Regions from separate parts of the Homo sapiens genome. Here region 2 is linked to region 1. Evidence: promoter capture Hi-C in 16 types of primary human blood cells and fetal thymus (Javierre and others, 2016). All regions are on one chromosome and are shown on one strand. The core of a region is centred on a gene start or on the middle of the fragment in contact, and the rest is flanking DNA. Distances in the headings are between cores, read along the strand shown. Region 1 holds the start of NSD1 (nuclear receptor binding SET domain protein 1). Region 2 overlaps NSD1 (nuclear receptor binding SET domain protein 1).

The links. Contacts are between HindIII fragments. The CHiCAGO score rates a contact against its expected background, and 5 or more counts as called.
Region 2: a contact is called between a fragment that was not itself captured here and the fragment with the promoter of NSD1 in region 1, in 3 of 17 cell types (erythroblasts, megakaryocytes and endothelial precursors). The highest score is 7.3, in erythroblasts.

Annotation. Positions count from the first base shown.
Region 1 is chr5:177,131,895-177,136,603 of GRCh38, forward strand. It overlaps NSD1 (nuclear receptor binding SET domain protein 1), which reads left to right and starts at 1,879. Exons shown (of 23, transcript NM_022455.5): 1 at 1,879-2,058; 2 at 3,193-4,136. The coding sequence starts at 3,210. RefSeq lists enhancers at 870-1,421, 914-1,208, 1,422-1,975, 1,976-2,527, 2,528-3,081 and silencers at 1,245-1,914, 1,995-2,154, 2,215-2,514. The HindIII fragment of the contact is 6,719 bases long and covers 1-4,266 here.
Region 2 is chr5:177,273,261-177,277,969 of GRCh38, forward strand. NSD1 (nuclear receptor binding SET domain protein 1) reads left to right here. Exons shown (of 23, transcript NM_022455.5): 17 at 412-524. Among named protein-coding and RNA genes, the nearest start is that of RAB24, 28 kb to the right of the region's middle. The HindIII fragment of the contact is 5,273 bases long and covers 1-4,709 here.

The DNA of each region.
Region 1 (4,709 bases), core at 629-3,128:
AGAAGGCGCTTAGCGCCCTAGGGACCAGGTAACTCCTGAGGTGAGCTTCTTGGTGGGGATCAAGCCCAGGGGGCGACGGAGTCCGGGCTGGGGGAAGGGCCCGAGGGGCTGGAGTCGCAAGTTCAGGCCCAGCTTGGGCTCCCTGTCCCGCCCTTCCGCTGTCTTGGGGGATTGGACGCCACGCGGTCGTGCTAGATTCGGTGCTGCGGGCCCGGTGCAGGATGCAGGCCGTGAGGCCCCAGGCCGAGGGCTGCGCCAGCGGGCTTGTCCCGGCCAGCCGGGCGGTCCCGTGTCCCGGCGCAGCTCCGCTGGGGTCCAGATGCCCGGCCCTCAGGGGCGAGGCGCGCACTCCCCGGGGAACCGGGCTGCGGAGCAGGCGGCCCGCTCTGGGCGGCGGTGGCACGAGAGGGCCATCTGCCTGGGTGCCGAGAACTGCAGCGTCCGCGGTGCGAGGCGCGGCCCGTCCCGTCCCGGCCCCCAGCCCGGCGCGCACGCACATACCCACGCCGGCCGGCGCCCGCTGCCCGAGCCCCCGTGCCAGGCCCAGACCTTGACTAGGCGCGGGAGGCGGTGCAGGGACTAGAGGACCCCCTCCCCCGGCGTTCCCCTCGCCCCGCCCGAGGCTGCGAGGACCCCTGGGCTCGGGGGTGGTGAGGGAGCTTCGTCCCGGCTGGGCCCGGGCTGGGGACTCGGCCTCCCTGGGCGGGGGCCGCACGGCTGCAGGCCGAGGTGCGGACGCGCTGTCAGGCTGCAGCCCGGCTCGGTGCCGGGGGTGGGCTCAGCGCTGGGGTCGCCTGGCTTCGTTCCCCCGCGGAGGCCACGGCCGGGCGAGCAGTGCCGGGGCGGGTAACCCGACCCGGCTCCCCAGAGCCGCTCACCCCGCACGGCCCGGCAAGGGGAGGGAGAGGGATGGGGGGAGGGGGAAGGGAAGGGGTGGTGGGTGAGGGGCTGTGGGCACCGCAGGGCCGAGTCCCCGGCCCGTCTGCGCTGCTGTAGGGCGGCTGCCCGCGGCACCCGGGACGATCCAGCCTCTGCCTCGCGGGCGTCGAGCCTGAGACAGGAGGGAGCCCTGGGGCTGCACAGGCTTGGCTCAGGGAGGCAGACCCGAGCTGCTGCCTCCATTTTGTTTCCTGCTCAGCTTGGTCTGTGGTGGTGGTGGTGGTGGTGGTGTGGGTTTGGGGTGCGGCCGGGTAGGGGGTTCGCCTGCGGCCGCGTCTGCTCGGGGCCTGAGGCCTCGAAGACCCCAGCCCAAGCCCCCAGGTGAGCCCTGCGGCAGGAGGGGGGTTGCCTTGGCCTCGGGCCGAACCCAGCGGGCTGAGGGCAGGTGCCCAGTGGATGGGGAGCCTGGGCTGTAACCTAAGATGGAGGCCGGGACTGACGCGGGCCCGAGCAGGGCTGGCGGGACGATCGGACAGGCCTCAGCCGCGCCAGGTGCCGCCTGGGTTGGGGTTCGAGACGCGTAGGGTGCGGGAGCCGTGTGCGGCCCGAGGCCAGCGCCGTGCCCCGAGGTAGGTGAGGGGATCGGAATGCCACCCACGACGCCCGCAGGCCCCGACACTCCAAGGAGGCGCGCGAGGCCCCTGGGGAGCCCGCCTCAGGCCCCGCCCGGGCAGCCGGGCCGGCCCGTAGGCCCCGGCCGCGAGCGGGCGCGCAGGGGGAGGGGAGGGGGCGGCAGCGGCAGCTCCGCTGATTGGGCGGCGCTCTCACAAGCCCGACTTCACCCGCCCTGAACCCCGAAGAGTGAGAGAAGGGAACGCGCGCGCTCGGTGGGGGAAGGGGTGCGCGCGCACTCGGGGCCCAGCCGCACGCGGGCCGGCGCGAGGCGCTCGGTCGCACGCGCGGCCGCGGGGGCGCGCGCGGTGGGGGTGTGAGGAGGAGGAGGCGGCGGCGGAATAGGCCGGGGCAGGTCGCGCTCGCTGCCTTCTCCCCTGAAGAGAGACGCGGGGGGAGGGGGGTGCGGCGAGCGGCCCCGCTCTCTCCCCACCGCTCCGCTCGCACCCCAGTGTAATGAGGGTCACCCCCTCCCCCCAGCTGGCCCGGGAGGGGGCGCGGGGCACGGTAACTAGTGCGCTGGGGTGGGCGGCGGGCAGGCGCGAGGAGAAGGGAGGGAGGAGGGTGGCCGGGCGGGGAAGATGGTGGTGGCCGTAAGGTGAGGGGCTCGGGGGAGGGCCAGGCGCGATGCGGGGTTGGTGGCCGGCGGCGCTGCAGCCGCCGGCCTCCTCCCCCTCCCCCTCCTCCATCACTACCAGCCGGGCTCAGGCCTAGCTGGCCGGGCTGCCGCGAACTTCCTCCCGGCGCGGCCCGTGCCCCGCCGGCCGCCTGCGAACACCTCGGCCTCCGCCTCCCCTCAGGTAGCAGGCTGCGGGGCGCGGGGCCGGCTGCCCTCCCGCAGCAAACTTTGCTTGCTGCTGAATATTGATGAGAGCGATCGGCTCGGCTGGGAGGTGCTGCCGCGGCTGCGGGAAGGAGCGCGGCCCGGGCAGGCGGCGGCGGCGTCGGCAGCAGCCATGTTTTTCGAGCTGTAGCAGCTGCTGCTACCCTGACTGGGCTTCGCTGGCCGCCTCGGTTTCTCCCTCTGCCGGGTCCAGGCCTCTTCGCCCTGCAGCTGCGGATCCAGCAGGCCTGCATTCAGGAAGGCGAGCTCTGGGGTGCAGCCGCCTCGGCCGGCTCGCCTGCGGCCTGCGCACCGCCGCTGCAAAGGCTCCGGCGCTGGCTGGGCGCAGGGTGCAGCGCTATTGTGACCGCTGCGCCCTAGCGAGCCAGGAAGGGGGGGGTACCTTTTTGTGCAGGGTCCAGGAGCCCCCCTCGGACCCCGCAGCCTTTTGCTTTTGAGAGATCCAGCTGCTCGACCCCTGGCGAGGGAGGGGGAGGACTAGTCCTGTTTGAGAATTGGGAATTTTGACGGGCAGAGGGGTTTTAATTTTAGTTCATCCCAAGTGTCCACCAGTCTACAGAGGAGGAAAAAGAGACGGGCTGTTTCTATGTAGCAGGATCGGCCCAGCTTCGGGAAAATGGAGTTTTCAGAGGCTCATCGAGGCCATTTTTTCATCTCCAGTCGGGGGAACTTTTTCTGCCCATGGAAGTGCAGCAGAAAGGCATAGAGGCCACTAGGCCTTGAAGTGGCTGCCATTTTAAAGAGTCGAGTCAGATGGCCTATTAACTCAGATTAATTGCTGTGCTTTTGGATTCCAGGTTGATGCCGGCCCAGGATGGATCAGACCTGTGAACTACCCAGAAGAAATTGTCTGCTGCCCTTTTCCAATCCAGTGAATTTAGATGCCCCTGAAGACAAGGACAGCCCTTTCGGTAATGGTCAATCCAATTTTTCTGAGCCACTTAATGGGTGTACTATGCAGTTATCGACTGTCAGTGGAACATCCCAAAATGCTTATGGACAAGATTCTCCATCTTGTTACATTCCACTGCGGAGACTACAGGATTTGGCCTCCATGATCAATGTAGAGTATTTAAATGGGTCTGCTGATGGATCAGAATCCTTTCAAGACCCTGAAAAAAGTGATTCAAGAGCTCAGACGCCAATTGTTTGCACTTCCTTGAGTCCTGGTGGTCCTACAGCACTTGCTATGAAACAGGAACCCTCTTGTAATAACTCCCCTGAACTCCAGGTAAAAGTAACAAAGACTATCAAGAATGGCTTTCTGCACTTTGAGAATTTTACTTGTGTGGACGATGCAGATGTAGATTCTGAAATGGACCCAGAACAGCCAGTCACAGAGGATGAGAGTATAGAGGAGATCTTTGAGGAAACTCAGACCAATGCCACCTGCAATTATGAGACTAAATCAGAGAATGGTGTAAAAGTGGCCATGGGAAGTGAACAAGACAGCACACCAGAGAGTAGACACGGTGCAGTCAAATCGCCATTCTTGCCATTAGCTCCTCAGACTGAAACACAGAAAAATAAGCAAAGAAATGAAGTGGACGGCAGCAATGAAAAAGCAGCCCTTCTCCCAGCCCCCTTTTCACTAGGAGACACAAACATTACAATAGAAGAGCAATTAAACTCAATAAATTTATCTTTTCAGGATGATCCAGATTCCAGTACCAGTACATTAGGAAACATGCTAGAATTACCTGGAACTTCATCATCATCTACTTCACAGGAATTGCCATTTGTAAGCAGTTTTTGGTACAACTTAAATATATACATATATGTATATATACAGGCCACTTAAAGGGAAACTTGTAACAAATTTGTTTTTGGTTGCTTATCAGTTCACAGCTGAAATCCTATTGCTAATCATAAGCTTTGGGCAAAATTTTACTTTGATTTTTAAATTTATCTCTGTTGTATGAATTTGGTTGTTTTAAGCTTTTTCCAAATAACTCTTCATTGAGAGTAGGCTAATGCTTTTAAAGGCATTTGATTGAGTTCAGGTTTAATTTCTCAAGTTGGAGGTATACATATATGATTAAAAAAAAAAAAAAAAGATGGGTTTTGGCCTGCCAGCACCATGAGTGCAGGTGAACCAATTTAGTACTTGGAGTCCTGTTGCTATATGTGGCAGATTATTTTTTTACTTGATGACTTGACTCTTACTTCAGGTTGAAGGGCATTTTGAACACAGATTAAAGTGGCTAAGATGAAGTTTTCTTGGACATTGTCAAAATCTAAATTAGGCTAGTTTTTCTGAACTACCTGTTTTGAAGGTATAGCATCCTGTGCTTTTGATAACTGCCACCATTAG
Region 2 (4,709 bases), core at 1,127-3,626, 140 kb after region 1:
TTGTCTTGGACCAAACATAAAATACACTAACAGTAACAATAACTGATGAGCTAAAAAAAAAAAAAAAAAAAAAGTCCATGCATAATTTTTATGATATCCGCCACCACAGATAAGCAAAAAAGTTCTCGTATTCAGATGGATGGATGCCAGTGATCTAAAGGGTGATAGTCTGTATTGTGCCATTTAGTTCTGGATTATGTTTTGTCTTAATACTATGTCTGAATACCCTTTGGACTACATTACCTGTTTGAAAATAGCTGTTATGTGTTTTCTTTTTCATATAGCATTGGTCGATTTTTGTGTAAAACATGGAGTTTCTCCAACTTAAAGGGGAAAAAGTAAAAAATAAGTGAATAAATAAGTAATTCCACCCAGAGATTTTGAAGTGACTTGTGCTGTCTGTTTTCATAGCTCTTCAGGAAGCTGCAGCAAGGTTTGAGGAATTAAAGGCCCAAAAAGAGCTAAGACAGCTGCAGGAAGACCGAAAGAATGACAAGAAGCCACCACCTTATAAACATATAAAGGTGAGGAGAAAATCTTGGGGGACCTTCTCTAGAAGAGAAATGGAATAGCTGGCTCTTCCCACTCTGTTCATGACAAGAACGGAAGCACAAGCATAGTTCGTTTTAGGTAGAGGTATGAGCTTAAAAGAAGATCAGAAATAGCCGGGCACGGTGGCTCACGCTTGTAATCCCAGCACTTTGGGAGGCCGAGGCGGGCGGATCACCTGAAGTCAGGAGTTTGAGACCAGCCTGGCCAGGCAGGTGCCTGTAATTCCAGCTACTTGGGAGGCTGAGGCTGGAGAATTGCTTGAACCCGGGAGGCAGAGGTTGCAGTGAGCCGAGATCGTGCCACTACACTCAAGCCTGGGCGACAGAGTAAGACTCCGTCTCCAAAAAAAAGAAGAAAAAAAGAAACAAGTACCAGAACACCATTCCTAGCGCATTGCCAGGATTCCCAGTGTCAGGAGAATTGATTTTAGGTGGACCTAACCTTTAACCTACCTAGTGAAATAGTCATCACCATTATCATCTGGGTCCAGTGGAGCCTTTGTATTTTAAACATTTTTATGTCATTTATATGAATAATTGACAGACATAAAAATAAAGAGACAGTGGAGAACAAATGTATTAGAAATTTTAGTGTTATGTTGTTGCTAAAATAATTGCAGTTTTATCATTACTTTTAATGGCAAACCTCAATTACTTTTGCACCAACCTAATATTTACTAAATCCTTTTTACAAACCTCTTTTTATCAGATAAGTTAGTTGCGATGCTCAAATATCATAAAACATGAAAGAATATTGTTAGGCCTGTTGAGAAAAGGAGATTACCCAGGTTGTTCTTGTAAAACATCTTTGATGGCATTGTTCCTGGATGAGAATACCCTATTTCTTTTTTGTTCTTAGAAATGCATTATTTGTTCACTTATCCTTTGTGTGTGTGTGTGTGTGTGTGTGTGTGTGTTGTTTTTTTGTTTGTTTGTTTTTGAGATGGAGTCTCCCCCTGTCTCCTAGGCTGGAGTGCAGTGGTGCAATCTTGGCTCACTGCAACATCCATCTCCCAGGTTCAAGCAAGTCTTCTGCCGCAGCCTCCCGAGTAGCTGGGATTACAGGCGCACACCACTATATGCGGCTAATTTTTGTATTTTTAGTAGAGACGGGGTTTCGCCGTGTTGGCCAGGCTGGTCTCGAACTCCTGACCTCAAGTGATTCACCCGCCACAGCCTCCCAAAGTGCTGGGATTACAGGCATGAGCCACCACGCCCGGCTGTGTGTTTCCAAAGACTGATAATCTGAGATGCTACTTGGAGACTAATTTGACCACCATCTTGAGAATCTAGTATGTTTAAGTTTGTCTCAAATATTGGATCGAGCATAGTTAAACTGAAAAACTTTCGTTGTTTGTCAGAAATTCAGATTGAACTAGATGACTTGGATTTTTATTTGCTAAATCTGATAACCCTACCGAAATCAGACCTTCAAGATCGTGTCTCCAGTGTTTTATACTTGCTTTTTTATTTTTAAACTCCTTTCCTCAGGTGTAGTAGACGGTCTTTTATACTTTTTTTAAACGACAATGCAGTACTTTGGGTAATGCCGTAAGAAATCTAAAGTGTGACAGTTTCAGTATTTCATCGTGCTTATATGTGATTCCATTGTGCTTCCCTTGTCTTTTTTTTTTTTTTTTTTTTTTTTTTGAGATGGAGTCGCCCAGGATGGAGTGCAGTGGCACGATCTTGGCTCACTGCAAGCTCTGCCTCCCGGGTTCAAGCCATTCTCCTGCCTCAGCCTCCCGAGTAGCTGGGACTACAGGCGCCCGCCACCACACCGGGCTAATTTTTTGTATTTTTAGTAGAGATGGGGTTTCACCATGTTAGCCAGGATGGTCTCGATCTCCTGACCTCGTGATCGGCCTGCCTTAGCCTCCCAAAGTGCTGGGATTACAGGCGTGAGCCACTGCGCCCGGCCTCCCTTTTCTTATTATTTCTGTCTTCTTTAGCATAGTTGTGAATTATTGATGAGTTAGTAATAATGTGTAATGATGAATTAGTAAGTTGTTACAAGATAGAGGAAAAGTAAGAACACTAAAATTCCATACCGTGTCTTAGATTTAGTCTGATGGACTTACATGGTATTTACAAGACAGAATCAGTTTTGTTCTTTGTTTGTTCCTTTGAGACAGGGTCTCCCTCTGTGACCCAGGCTAGAGTGCATTGCTGCAATTTTGGCTCACTGCAACCTCCGCTTCGTGGGCGCAAGTGATTCTCCTGCCTCCTGCCTCAGTCTCCTAAGTAGCTGGGATTACAGACATGAGCCACCAACGCCTGGCTAATTTTGGTATTTTTTGTAGAGTTGGGGTTTCACCATGTTGCCCAGGCTGGTCCTGAACTCCTCAGCTCAAAGCAATCCACCCACCTCAACCTCCCAAAGAACTGGGATTACAGGCGTGAGCTACGACACTTGGCCTGAATTTTATTCTTTTAAATAAGTATATTTTCTTTTTGAACTTTGGAAGACCTCTAAAAAGGGATAAAAGTCATAAACACTGCTTCTGAAGTCTTTTTTTTTTTTTCCCCCTGAGACAGAGTCTCACTCTGTTGCCCAGGCTGGGGTGCAGTGGCGTGGTCTCAGCTCACTGCAACCTCCATCTCCTGGATTCAGCCCACTCTCCTGCCTCAGCCTCCTGAGTAGCTGGGACTACAGGCATTGTGCCACCACACCTGGCTAATTTTTGTGTTTTTAGTAGAGATGGGGTTTCACCATGTTAGCCAGGCTGGTCTTGAACTCCTGACCTCAGGTGATCTGCCCGCCTCGGTCTCCCAAAGTTGAGCCTCCCACGGTGAGCCACTGTGCCAGGCCCAGTTTTTTTTGCTTTTTTCTCCCCCCCTTTATTAGAGATGATGATTTCACTATGTTGCCTAGGCCGATCTCCTGGCCTCAGGTTGTCTTCCCACGTTGGCCTCCCAAATTACTGGGATTATAGGCATGAGCTGCCACTCCTGGCCTTTAAATTGTTACTTTAAATGTCATAAAATATCCATACCAAGATTAGATTAAAAAAAGAACAAAACGAAAAAAGTCATAAACTGTTAATCCTTACAAATGATTACAACTTCTGAAATTAAGAATTTCAAAACCTATAATTGGATCTAAATGAGTCTCACAATGTATGTGAAAATATATTCTTGGAACATAGTCGTTAGGCCTCAGAAATGGAAAATAATTCTATTCACATAGTCCTGAGGGTCAGATAACAGCAAGGTAGGCATTTTAGAGTTAACATATTAACCATATTGAGCTACTGAGAGAGCAGTTTCCTGTGAGTGATCTCATCAAGAACTTAGAGGCCAACTTCTTTACTCCATTTTTTTTTTTTTTTTTAATAAACATTTCCAGGAAAAGGATCTAGAGCAGGCATTGGCAAACTATGGTTCATGGGCAAATGTGGTCTACTGCCTATTCTTGTAATACTCTTGAACTACAGGTTGTTTTTGTATTTTTTAGTGATTGGCAAAAAAGAGATTTTGTGACACATAAAGATGATATGAAATTCAACTTTCAATCAGTATCCAGAAAATTTTATTGGAATACAGGCATGCTTCTTCATTTACATATTACATATGGCTGCTTTTATATTACAGTGGCAGAGTCGAGCTACATGTGGAGATCTATGGCCTGCAAAGCCTGAAGTGTTTACTTTCTGACCCTTTACAGAAAAAGTTACTTAACTCCTGATCTATAGTGAGATTTACTTAGAATTACATATCCATGTCTTTGTTCTTAACCATGTGGGATTTGTTTTGGTTTGCTTTTGGTTTACGATGTGATAAGTACAAAACTTATTTTTGGATTAATAACAGGTTAGATCAGTTGATAAGAAACAATGATTAAAACATATATTTTCCAGCCTGGGCAACATAGCAAAACCCAGTCTCTACAAAAAATACAAAGAAAAAAAAAAATTTGGGGTGCCTGTTGTCCCAGCTACCTGAATCACCTGAGCCTGGAAAGTCAACGCTGCAGTGAGCTGTGATTGCACTACTGCACTCCAGTCTGGGGGACAGAGTAAGACCCTGTCTCAAAACAAAAACAAATATATATTTGTAGAGAGAAAAGAAGTAGCATGAACCTTTATGTGTATTTGGGAAGGGTTCAAGTAAAAATATTTCGAATCAGAAGTGAATGTTCAAATGCCCTATTCAGGA